Regions from separate parts of the Homo sapiens genome. Here region 2 is linked to region 1. The links are contacts of gene promoters, found by promoter capture Hi-C in human tissues and cell types (Jung and others, 2019). All regions are on one chromosome and are shown on one strand. The core of a region is centred on a gene start or on the middle of the fragment in contact, and the rest is flanking DNA. Distances in the headings are between cores, read along the strand shown. Region 1 holds the start of MRS2 (magnesium transporter MRS2). Region 2 overlaps DCDC2 (doublecortin domain containing 2).

Evidence for each region. The method cuts DNA at HindIII sites, captures the fragments that hold promoters and counts their contacts. A contact is called where the count stands out against the background at its distance.
Region 2: a fragment that was not itself captured here is called in contact with the fragment with the promoter of MRS2 in region 1 in 1 of the 25 tissues and cell types used here (liver).

Annotation. Positions count from the first base shown.
Region 1 is chr6:24,398,204-24,404,393 of GRCh38, forward strand. It overlaps MRS2 (magnesium transporter MRS2), which reads left to right and starts at 4,733. Exons shown (of 11, transcript NM_020662.4): 1 at 4,733-5,033. The coding sequence starts at 4,844. RefSeq lists enhancers at 1,690-2,425, 2,426-3,161, 5,370-6,104 and silencers at 2,138-2,432, 3,318-3,612. The HindIII fragment of the contact is 9,320 bases long and covers 649-6,190 here.
Region 2 is chr6:24,337,416-24,343,236 of GRCh38, forward strand. All of the region lies in intron 2 of DCDC2 (doublecortin domain containing 2), which reads right to left. Among named protein-coding and RNA genes, the nearest start is that of KAAG1, 17 kb to the right of the region's middle. The HindIII fragment of the contact is 4,746 bases long and covers 1,896-5,821 here.

The DNA of each region.
Region 1 (6,190 bases), core at 3,483-5,982:
CAATTCAATATGAGAGGATCTAGAGCTCAATTGTATGATGACTTTTTCTCTGACTCACTTCTTGGGAGACTTTTTTTTTTTTTTGAGATGGAGTTTTGCTTTCCCCCAGGCTGGAGTGAAGTGGGGCAATCTTGGCCCACTGCAACCTCTGCCCCCCGGGTTCAAGCGATTCTCCTGCCTCAGCCTCCCGAGTAGCCAGGATTATAGGCGCCTGCCACCATACCCCAATAATTTTTATATTTTTAGTAGAGACGGGGTTTCGCCACGTTAGCCAGGCTGGTTTCAAACTCCAGACCTCAGGTGATCCACCAGCCTCGGACTCCCAAAGTGCTAGGATTACAGGGGTGAACCACTGTGCTCGGCCTTCTTGGGAGATCTCTTCCAATCTTGTGGCTTTAAATATTCTATACAGTCTCAAATGTAACTATCTATCTCCAACACCTTCCCTGAATTCCAGGCTGCTTACTTGACATCTACACTCAGATATCTGTCTAGGACATCTCTCGAAGTTAACATTCAAAACCAAATGCCATGCCATAGTTTTTGTTGTTCTTGTTTTTGTTGTTGTTCTTGTTGTTGTTGTTGAGACGGGAGTTTCACTCTTGTTGCCCAGGCTGGAGTGCAATAGTGCGATCTTGGCTCACCGCACCCTCCACCTCCGGGTTCAAGTGATTCTCCTGCCTCGGCCCCCTCAGTAGCTGGGATTACAGACATGCACCGCCACAGCCAGCTAATTTCGTATTTTTAGTAGAGATGGGGTTTCTCCACGTTGGTCAGGCTGGTCTCGATCTCCCAACCTCAGGTGATCCGCACACCTTGGCTTCCCAAAGTGCTGGGATTACAGGTTTGAGCCACAGTTTTCAATTAAAAACTTCTCCTTTCTGGCCAGGCATGGTGGCTCACGCCTGTAATCCCAGCACTTTGGGAGGCCAATGCGGGTGGATCACAAGGTCAGGAGATCGAGACCATCCTGGCTAACACGGTGAAACCCCATCTCTGCTAAAAATACAAAAAATTAGCTGGGCGTGGTGTCAGGCGCCTGTAGTCCCAGCTACTTGGGAGGCTGAGGCAGGAGAATGGCGTGAACCCGGGAGGCGGAGCTTGCAGTGAGCAGAGATCACACCACTGCACTCCAGTCTGGGCGACAGAGCGAGACTTCGTCACAAAAAACAAAACAAACAAAAAAAAAACTGCTCCTTTCCAAAATTCCCTATCTCAGTAAATAGCACCAGCAAGGCCCTGCTGTTCGGGATACACATTTTGGAGCAACATCTATGCCTCTCTTTCTCTTATATCCCATCTGCAAATGTTGTCAACTCAGCCTTCAATATATGGTACCAAGCCCAACTCATCTTCCCCTCTCCACCATCCCCACCTTAGCCCAAACCATCATCACCATCTCTCTGCTTCCAATTGCCTCTCTGTAGTCTCTTTCCCACACAGCAAGAGTGACCCATTTAAACATAAATCAGATTGTTACCTCTGCTCATTACCTCTCTGCTCGAAGTCCTCCAATGGTTCCCACCCTTCTCAGAAAAATCTTTGCCACGAATTACGAGGCTGTACGTCTGGACAGGTTCCAGAGTTTTCCTTAGACTTTGCAAAAGTTATCTTAGAGCTGTCTCATTGTGCTGGGTGCAAATTTTGTTTTAAAGAGAAAGTTATCACATATTTTCTCAAAGAAGCATCTCTGAAGGCATGTAATATGTTTGAAATACTTATCTCATCATTAAAGCTTTAGTAAAATGAAAAATCTACCAGCCATGTTCTCTATACTCAGCGATTTTCCAGACTTCAACGCCCTGGAAGCAATGATTAAAGTTTTTCTTTGCCTTCAATTATCTGAAGGGTTGGGCTGCCCCTCCACACCTGTGGGCATTTCTCATCAGGTAGAATGAGAGACTTGGAAAAGAAAGAGACACACAGACAAAGTATAGAGAAAGAAAAATGGGCCCGGGGGACTGGCGCTCAGCATACAGAGGACCCGCGCCGGCACCGGCCTCTGAGTTCCCCTAGTATTTATTGATCATTATCAGGTGTTTCCTGGAGAGGGGGATGTGGCAGGACAATAGGATGATAGTGGAGAGAAGGTCAGCAGGTAAACACGTGAACAAATGTCTCTGCATCATAAACAAGGTAAAGAAAAAAGTGCTGTGCTTTTGATGTGCATATACATAAACATCTCAATGCCTTAAAGAGCAGTATTGCTGCCAGCATGTCCCACCTCCAGCCCTACGGCGGTTTTCCCCTATCTCAGTAGATGGAATATACAATCGGGCTTTACACTGAGACATTCCATTGCCCAGGGACAAGCAGGAGACAGATGCCTTACTCTTATCTCAAATGCAAAGAGGCGTTCCTTCCTCTTTCACTAATCCTCCTCAGCACAGACCCTTTACGGGTGTCGGGCTGGGGGACGGTCAGGTCTTTCCCCTCCCACGAGGCCATATTTCAGACTATCACATGGGGAGAAACCTTGGACAATACCTGGCTTTCCCAGGCAGAGGTCCCTGCGACCTTCTGCAGTGTTTTGTGTCTCTGGGTACTTGAGATTAGGGAGTGGTGATGACTCTTAACAAGCATGCTGCCTTCGAGCATTTGTTTAACAAAGCACATCCTGCACAGCCCTTAATCATTTAACTCTGAGGTGACATAGCACATGTTTCAGGGAGCACAGGGTTGGGGGTAGGGTTACAGATTAACAGCATCTCAAGGCAGAAGAATTGTTCTTAGTACAGAACAAAATGGAGTCTCTTATGTCTACTTCTTTCTACACAGACACAGTAACAATCTGATCTCTCTTTCTTTTCCCCACATTATCAAGTCAAACATCCTCTCTTCTGTGAAGGCTTCTCTTTGTGCACTGCCCTCCTACTCCATCCCCAGTCCCAGTACCCTGCAGAATAAAATGTTTCTATCTCTGTCTCCTTAGCTTTGTGTCCATACATAGATATTGAAAGGAAGTCTGTGGAACTTGTGTCTGCCTTGTATTACTACTGTGGAAGGGACAATAAATTTATTAACTCATATTTTTAAAATATGCATACATACTGTATTTAACCTAAGACTTTTTTCATATTTTAAAGACTGGAATTGAGATATGTCTTTCAATCTACATGTTTAGAAAGCATAACTTATCAGTTTTTTTTTCTTTCTTGGTGGTACATAAAATAATGGTACCTTAAAATTGATGCTATCTTACATTTTATTAAATATGGAATAGAAATCTTATGTGTCTGTGCTCCTCATTCTTTATAGCAAAAGTTTAATACATGACATCATTCCATATGACAGTTGATTATTTTTGCCACTACTGGGGCTCAAACCATAATACCCCAAAATATGATGTTTTGGCATGCTGAGTCTTTGGGGTTTGTTTGTTTTGAGATGGGAGTCTCACTCTGTCGTACAGGCTGGAATGCAGTACAGGCTGGAATGCAATGGCATGATCTGGGCTCGCTGCAACCTCCACCTCCTGGATTCCAGCAATTCTTATGCCTCAGCCTTACAAGTAGCTGGGATTACAGGCACCTGCAACCACACCCGGCTAATTTTTGTATTTTTAGTAGAGACGGGTTTTGCCATGTTGGCCAGGCTGGTCCTGAACTCCTAACCTCAAGTGGTCCACAACATTGGCCTCCCAAAGTGCTTGGCTCCCAAAGTGCTGGATTACAGGCATGAGGCACCACGCCCGGTGGCATGTTGAGTCTTTGAATTAAAGGAAATTAAAAGGGTCTCAGAAAGAAGCCTAAAAATCAAGGCCTCTCTCTCTCACCTTCCCCCTTCCTTTTGTCTCTCTGATACTCTTACTTTTTCCAAGCACCTGAAGGGGCTCTCTTTTCCTGCACAGCCAGATAAGGAATTTCCTTATCTGACAGAGAAAACTCTTTTCCAAAGAAATGCAATTGTCTTAAAACCCGTTCCTTAGGAATCGCATTAAATAATCAGAAGAGATTAATCACCCAGAGAAGAGACAAAAACTGAAAGTCATAGCCACACTGAGACTTTTCATAGATACTTCTGAGGGTAGCTCCAAGAGATTACCTGGGAAACTTTACCTGTATAATAGGACAATTTTTGTTCAGAGTGAAGTTTCACAGCTTGTCCACAAGCGATTGTTTGTACTTCTGTCCCACTGAATGTCCAAGGAGAATCATTTGCAAACCACTGTCTGGCTTTCGGGCCCATTCATACCTATCTCCCTCTACTCAACAAAGAAGGGTATACAAGCATCTGGACCTTAATTGAGTTATTGAGTAATCACTCTTCTGTGATTTTTCCCTATGCACGTTAAGCAAATTTTGTATGCCTTTTTCTCCTGCTAATCTGTCTACTTAGTTCATTCCAGCAACTTTCAGAGGGCAAAAGTAGGAGCTTTCCCTCTTGCTCCCTACACCACGTTAAATTTAAATATAAATTAAATGATGTGGGAATGGGTAACCTGCTCATTTCCAAACTGCAATTTTCATAGGTATGAAAATTCTCCACAAACTACAAAACCATGACACTCCAAGCGCCCAAGAACCTAGGTTGGACAGCTCACTTAGTGCAGGTAAACGTGCTCCACCCATCTCCCAGCCCGCCTGCCCCCTCACTTAGGTACAGGTGCAGGTACAGGTAGGCAAGCAAACGTCTATTGGCTGTGGACTTAACAGGCTCGCCCACAGGTACCTTCCGAGCATGCGTGGGGAAGTAGCACGCAGGCGCGGCACGCCCCGCGCATGCCTGGTGCACAGAGTCTGCAGGTCGGGCGGTAGCGACAGGTCAGAGCTGCGGCCTGAGCAGCCAGCGTCCGGCATGAAGGTCTGGGGTCTGGCTGCTGCCTGCTTCTTGCTCCAGCACCATGGAATGCCTGCGCAGTTTACCCTGCCTCCTGCCCCGCGCGATGAGACTTCCCCGGCGGACGCTGTGTGCCCTGGCCTTGGACGTGACCTCTGTGGGTCCTCCCGTTGCTGCCTGCGGCCGCCGAGCCAACCTGATTGGAAGGAGCCGAGCGGCGCAGCTTTGCGGGCCCGACCGGCTCCGCGTGGCAGGTACTGCCCTTCCCCGGCAACAGCCTTGGGACGCTGGTCTTGCAGTGACCTTAGACTGCTGCCCCAGCCGTCCGGCGCGGCGCGCCTGTTGCTCCGCGCCCTCCGCAGGCCTCGGCCTCCCGCGTGTCCTGTGAGCTTGCACAGGCCCGCGGGCCGAGCTGCGTCCCACTCGCTCAGAATGCGACCTTGCTATGTGCGCTGTGCCCTGCCGGGGTCCCAGCGGCCAACCCTCTGCCTTCTCCTCCACCGCCCTTGCTGCAGATTATGTAACCATAGGAACAACCTAGGAATCGTTTACAGACCGTGATCACGTTAGTTAACACCCGCTTAAGTGCTCTTGTAAGAGGTTTTTTCTGTGTTGTTTTTGAGACAGGGTCTTACTATGTTGCCCAGGCTGGACTCAAACTCCTTGCCTCGAGCCATCCTAACGCATTAGCCTCGCAAAGCGCTGGGATTACAGGCGTGAGCCACCACACCTGGCCGAGAGGTGTTTTTAAACAAGGATTTCATCTGTTCGGAAGTCATAAGTATAAATTAATACTTCCCTGTTTTCTGTTTCTTCGTTATGGACACATTTATACAGTTGTCCAGTTGCACGGAGATTGGGGACGCACCTAGAAGTGAGGCTAAAGACTGAGTTGTTTCTGAGAACGACTTACTTTCAACTACAGTACTCTATAAGTAAACAGCCAGGGAGATCGGATTGAGAAAAAAAAATCTTATTTGCTGTTTATTTTTTCACCAAATGTTGAAGCATGGTGAAAAGTTAAGATTTTCACAAATGTGAGTGCAAATATTTGAGGAATAAAAGGTATTGAAATGAATGACTTTATTAAGAACATAGCAGTGTCCTCAAATATGTTTTCTCAATTGTGCTCTCAAAAGCCTCCCAAAGTAACTCCTCGTCAGCACCTCATTCTCCACTTATTGGAGAGGCTAAGTTGGGTTACATGCTCTGCACCCTCAATTGATAATGCTTGGGAATCCAGTTTCAGCAAGTTGGAGGAAACTTTTAGGACAAGCATTGACGTTCACAATCTCAATCCCGGTTACACTCTAATTTGTGACATTAAAACATTGAAAGGCATTTGTAATCAGCAAATGCCTTTTACCTTTATTCATCTTACCCTTATAGTGATAATTTGTATTTTGTAAAA
Region 2 (5,821 bases), core at 3,019-5,518, 61 kb before region 1:
AAAGCCAAAAAAAAAAATGTCAATTGAGAATACAACTAAAATAATTCCCGGCAATATTTTGTGACTAATGATGACTTGTTAAAGAAGAGTATTAAGAGCCAGGCACGGTGGCTCACACCTGTAATCCCAGCACTTTGGGAGGCCGAGGTGGGCGGATCGCTTGAGGTCAGGCATTCAAGACCGAGGTGGCCAACATGGTGAAACCCCATCTCTACCAAAAAAATATAAAAAAATTAGCTGGGTGTGGTGATGCGTGCCTGTGATCCCAACTACTTGGGAGGCTGAGGCAGGAGAATCACTTGAACCTGGGAGACGGAGGTTGCAGTGAGCTGAGATGGTGCCACCGTACTCCAGCCTGGGCCATAGAGCAAGACTCCGTCTCAAAAAAAAAAAAAAAGACTATTAAGGAAATTGAAAGAATATTTTATCCCTTTTCTGGATTCACTTCCTAATTCTTTAGTCTTTCTTATATATTTTATCCTTCTTATCATCATTAAATCAAGGTATTAAAAAATTTTAAAACCCTTCACTCCCACAAACATCCTTTCAAGTGCAAAAAGACACTGAATGATCATCTTTTAATTAAATTGCATTAATTCTTAGGAAACGCTTCCTTCTGCATTAACACACAATACATGAACACACAGTCCCTCATCTGTGAGCTCTTGAGAAACATGTTTTCATTATCAATTTCCTCCCATGTAAAATCAGAATAATAACAATCCCTACTTCATAAGGTTGTTGTGAGGATTATATCATCTTTGTAAAGTACTTAGAACAACACTGACTAAACACATATCAAAGAAATACATACACACACATGTGCACATGCACAAACACTCACAGTGAGTTCCAGTTTTGTGCATCTTCTAACATTTAGGCTGGCTCAATATTCAAAAGTTAATGCTTCAAATATCTCTGCCTGTCACCGCCATTAAAAAAAAACAACAACTGTATTCCCTGTCTTCACGAAAGGGAATGCCATCTATCCAGTAGCCCAGGCCAGAAACTCAAAAATCATCCAGCTAATCTTTCTTCATTACCCCACATCCACTCAATCACTAAGCTCTGTTTCTCAAATCTAATCCTTCCACCATCTCAACAGCCTCTCCCATCATGAGTGGCACATTTACCTCCAACACATGGTCGCCTGGCCTCCAACCTTGCTGTAGCAATAAGAGTCATTGTGTCAATTCCCTGATGAAATCCCTTCAATAGCTTTTGGTTGGTTTTATTTATTTAATTTGAGACAGAATTTCACTCCTGTTGCCCAGGCTAGAGTGCAATGGTGTGATCCCAGCTCACTGCAAACCTCTGCTTCCCAGGTTCAAGTGATTCTCCTGACTCAGCCTCCCAAGTAGCTGGGATTACAGGCACACACCACCACGCCCAGCTAATTTTTGTATTTTTAGTAGAGGGGGTTTCACCATGTTGGCCAGGCTGGTCTCAAACTCCTGACCTCAGGTGATCCGCCCACCTCAGCCTCCCAAAGTGCTGGGATTACAAGTGTGAGCCACCATGCCCAGCAGCTTTTGGTTGGTTTTAGGAAAAAGATAAATTACTTTTTAAAACCCCTGATGTTGGTACCTCTCTACCTCCCATGCCTTATCTCTCACATAGTTCCATTCCCAACCTTCTATCCCAACCTCTTCCCGTGATTCAGCCAAACAGCACATGTATGTTTCTCAAATGTACCCTGTGCTCTCTCATCTGCAGACATTCACACATGTCATCTCCTTTGCCTGCAATGCTCTTCCTCCTTCTGCTTGCCTGGTGAACATACTCATTCCCTTTAGGTCACAACGTATATATCATTTCTTCCAGGAAGCTTCTGAGGATTCCCCTGGCTTATGGTAGCCATCCTTCCAGCAGCCTGTGCCGCCTGTATCCTCCCACACAGCACACTTCGGATAGCTTGCGTACGGCCCCATCTTCTCCACTACACAGCCAGCTTCAGGAAAGCTTGCCTTGTCTGATATATTCACCATTGCAAATCCAACTAACATAATGCCTGGCACATAAACTGGTGCTCATATCATTTTTTTGATGAAAGAATTTGTGATGTTAATTTTTTACCACCAAAACGTGAGAGCCATAAATTTGTGACTAGTGTCATTCCCTTGGGGTCCAAACCCTCCCACATGAAAGAAGGCTTAAAATAATAGCAGAGACCATAGATCAATTCATCTGCAGACTCCTCTTCTCCAATTGCTGCCAACAAAACCATCTTTGTAATCCTTTAGGATCACTTTGATGGAGTACTAGGAGAGTGCCATTATGATTTTATAATTCTGTCTGTGTACTCAGAGTAATTACATGGTGCCTGGGACACACAAGCTAAACTAACATTGTTACAGGTTAAAATGTGGACATCTAACCAAGATTGTCTATGAATGGATATATTTATAATAAGTGTTGGATGGGTCTTTTGACACCAAATTTGATGCACACATCAAAATTGATCCACTAACTTGATGCTATAAGATAGAGAGAGCAAAGGGAATTCCTAAAGAGATGGAAAATTATCATTTGAATATGATTATACATAAGGAAATGAATTGGTGAAGCGGTGGAGAGGAATAGAGTTTCGGAATAAATAAGAGTCACTAAGTAAAAATGCTGAAAATTCCCAGTAGACAATCACATTGCTTGGATTGCATTATATACATGTTCATGCAGAGATGAACATGTAGATGAATGTGCCCTGTGCTCTCTCATCTGCAGACGTTCACACATGCCATCTCCTTTGCCTGCAATGCTCTTCCTCCTTCTGTTTGCCTGGTGAACATACTCATTCCCTTTAGGTCACAATGTATACATCATTCCTTCCAGGAAGCTTCTGAGGATTCCCCTGGCTTATGGTAGCCTAATAGGTGAGGAAAGTCAAAGTTAATCAATATTATTGATAAAATTAATTAAAATAGAAATAACACAAGGGAATAGCAATCTGATTAGAAGAAGTACCGGCTAGCGGAAGGGCAATTTAATTCAATTTTCATATACTATTTGACTAAATTAAATATTAGTCAGTTGAGCCTTCATGCAAAACAAGCTATGCATTTGCAAAAGCCATACTAACAGAATGTATTTGCTGTAGTAAAAATATTTTTAATTGACACTTCTTTTTTTAATCCAGCTTTTAAAAACTAGCATGGAAGATCTAAAACTAGCTAATGCAAAATTTGTAATACTGGAAATCTAGTTATCCACTCGTTTCTAAGAAAACAAGCCATGAATATGGAGTTTTATCACTTAGAATATAATTAACAAAATGCAACTTGAATGATATTAGATGACTTATTTTCTAAAAAAAAAATTTTGTTTTTTTGAGACAATGTCTCACTCTGTCGCCCAGACTGGAGTGCAGTGGCAGGATCTTGGCTCACCGCAACCTCCACCTCCCCGGCTCAAGCAATTCTCCTACCTCAGCCTCCCGAGTAGCTGGGACTACAGGCACGTACCACTATGCCTGGCTAATTTTTGCATTTTTGGTAGAGATAGGGTTTCATCATGTTGGCCAGGCTGGTCTCAAACTCCTGACCTCAAACGATCCACCTGCCTTGGCCTCCCAAAGTGCTGGGATGACAGGCGTGAGCCATGGAACCTGGCCATTATCTAAAAATTTCTAAAAGTTGGCAGCCCAGTTACATATGGCTATGTAATTTGAAATAGCAAAGATGGCCATAGAGGTTCACAGATCTTTGAAACACAAACATACTCACTGCTAGAAAGAGGGAAAAAATACAAAGCAGCAGAGATTGCCATTTGAGATTTCCTAGAGAGAACAGTTCCAGGTTAAACATTAGACACTGCAAATATAAAAAGTCAATTTATTTGTCTCTCTCCCACGATCCTTCACCACTTAAAAGTTCTACCCCCAGCTAAGAGGTGGGCTGAAATCAACTTTATTTCAACAAACCAAACATCCAAACTATGTAATCATGGGATGACATCTGAGTTTGATCTGGCTGGCTGCTTATAAAGGAGGCTTTCACAATGATACATGGGAATTTTCATTGTTGACCAAGCTAGACACTAGGGCATACTGCCTGCATATTTCCTGCTGAAATCAGCCAAGTGCAAATAGAGACCTACCTTTTTTTAAAAAAAAAAAATGCCTCCATCCATCTGTTTTGAACTATACTGAAACTTATTTTATTTTACACATAAAGATAGGACTATTAGCCTCCTACTTTCGAGACATGGACCTTTTTAGTTGTTTTCTGAGTTCGGTCATAGATGTAGGCTGAATTACATGTATACTTTCCCACAAACCTTAACCAGTACCACATTTGAGAGGACAGCTGGTTATTTAGGGAACAGTCTGGGGCCAGGGACCTAGTAGATCTAAGAGTGGGATTCAAGCCCAAGTCCTTGGCCTCATTAGCACAGTGTTCTCACCAAACTACCCTTCCAAGAAAAGTCCAAAGATTTATTGCTGCTCTAGATCTTTGAAACAAAGTTTCCCAAAATCCAAAAATACTTCCCCAACAATCAGACATGTAAGAGGGCGCACGCATGTGTGCACGCGTACACACACACACACACACAAACACACAGAGAATTTGTTCTACATTAAAGAGAAATAAAATTTAAAGTGTTTAACCCAATAAGTTTCTATATCCTAATCAAATGTGAAAGCATCCTCACAGATGACTTCATATACTGGTTTCTTATTACTGACTCCTTTGGGCTTTACTTCCCTTATTCCTTTAATGCATCTTTGCTGGACATACAGTTAGTGGGGGAAAACTGAAACATCTCTTTAGGTGGTTGCTATGTCCGTCCAGGGTGCTATGCTACCTTCAGTTCTAAATATGAAAACCATACGGCAAAACAGGAATATTCCTCAAACCCTTTACTTTCACAGTGTTGCTTCAAATTGTGTTACTTTTTTGCTTAAACAATATTGACTGTAAGTCAGAAAATCACAGCATCGCATGTTTATTTGCATGGAAGAACTCTCTGAAACAGGAAATCAAGACAGGAGGTGTCAATACGGACTGCTGCCAGTCACTCCGGCAGTCTTCTTGCACCAGCCACTTCTCCGTGGAGTGTGGCAGCTGGGCAGCGCTCCTTCTGGGCTTCCACAGGAAGGCTCTGACCCCGAAAACCTTAGATTAGAGCGCATTTTGAAATTTAAATAAGCCTCAATTCACCTCTGCCATCTTGGCATACAACCGAAATGTGCAAGTCAGAAGAATGTATTTCTATTTAAAATAGATAGAAAGCAGGTATCACTCTTTCTCCTTCAGTAAGTTTTTAGTAGTCTCCAATTAAAAAAAAAAAAGGGTTTTCTTTCAAACCAACTCAAATTCACCAATCTTCACACAATATCTTAATGTTTTTTACCCCCATTTTGTTACCCAGCTATGATGTAGAGGGCTGATTACCACATTCTTTGTAAGTATTGAAGCCAATTATTAATTGGGTCTAAATAATACTTTTCTTCCCCTGGATTAATAATCTCTGATATTACTTTCCAACATTTTTACTCTTTTCATGTATCTTACCTTTTAAAACTCTTTAGAGAGTCCTCCTACAATTACCTTGTTGTCATTTCTGATTGGCACGTGAGTCTTTTTATATCTGCAGGCCTAGAATGTAGTCCACTGCCTGGCTCTTGGTAAATATTCTTTTTTTTTTTTTTTTTTTGAGACAGAGTCTCTTTCTGTCGCCCATACTGCAGTGGTGTGATCTCAGCTCACTGCAAGCTCCGTCTCCCGGGTTCACACCATTCTCCTGCCTCAGCCTCCGGCGTGGCAGAGATTACAGGCGTCTGCCACCATGCCCAGCTAATTTTTTGTGTTTTTTTTAGTAG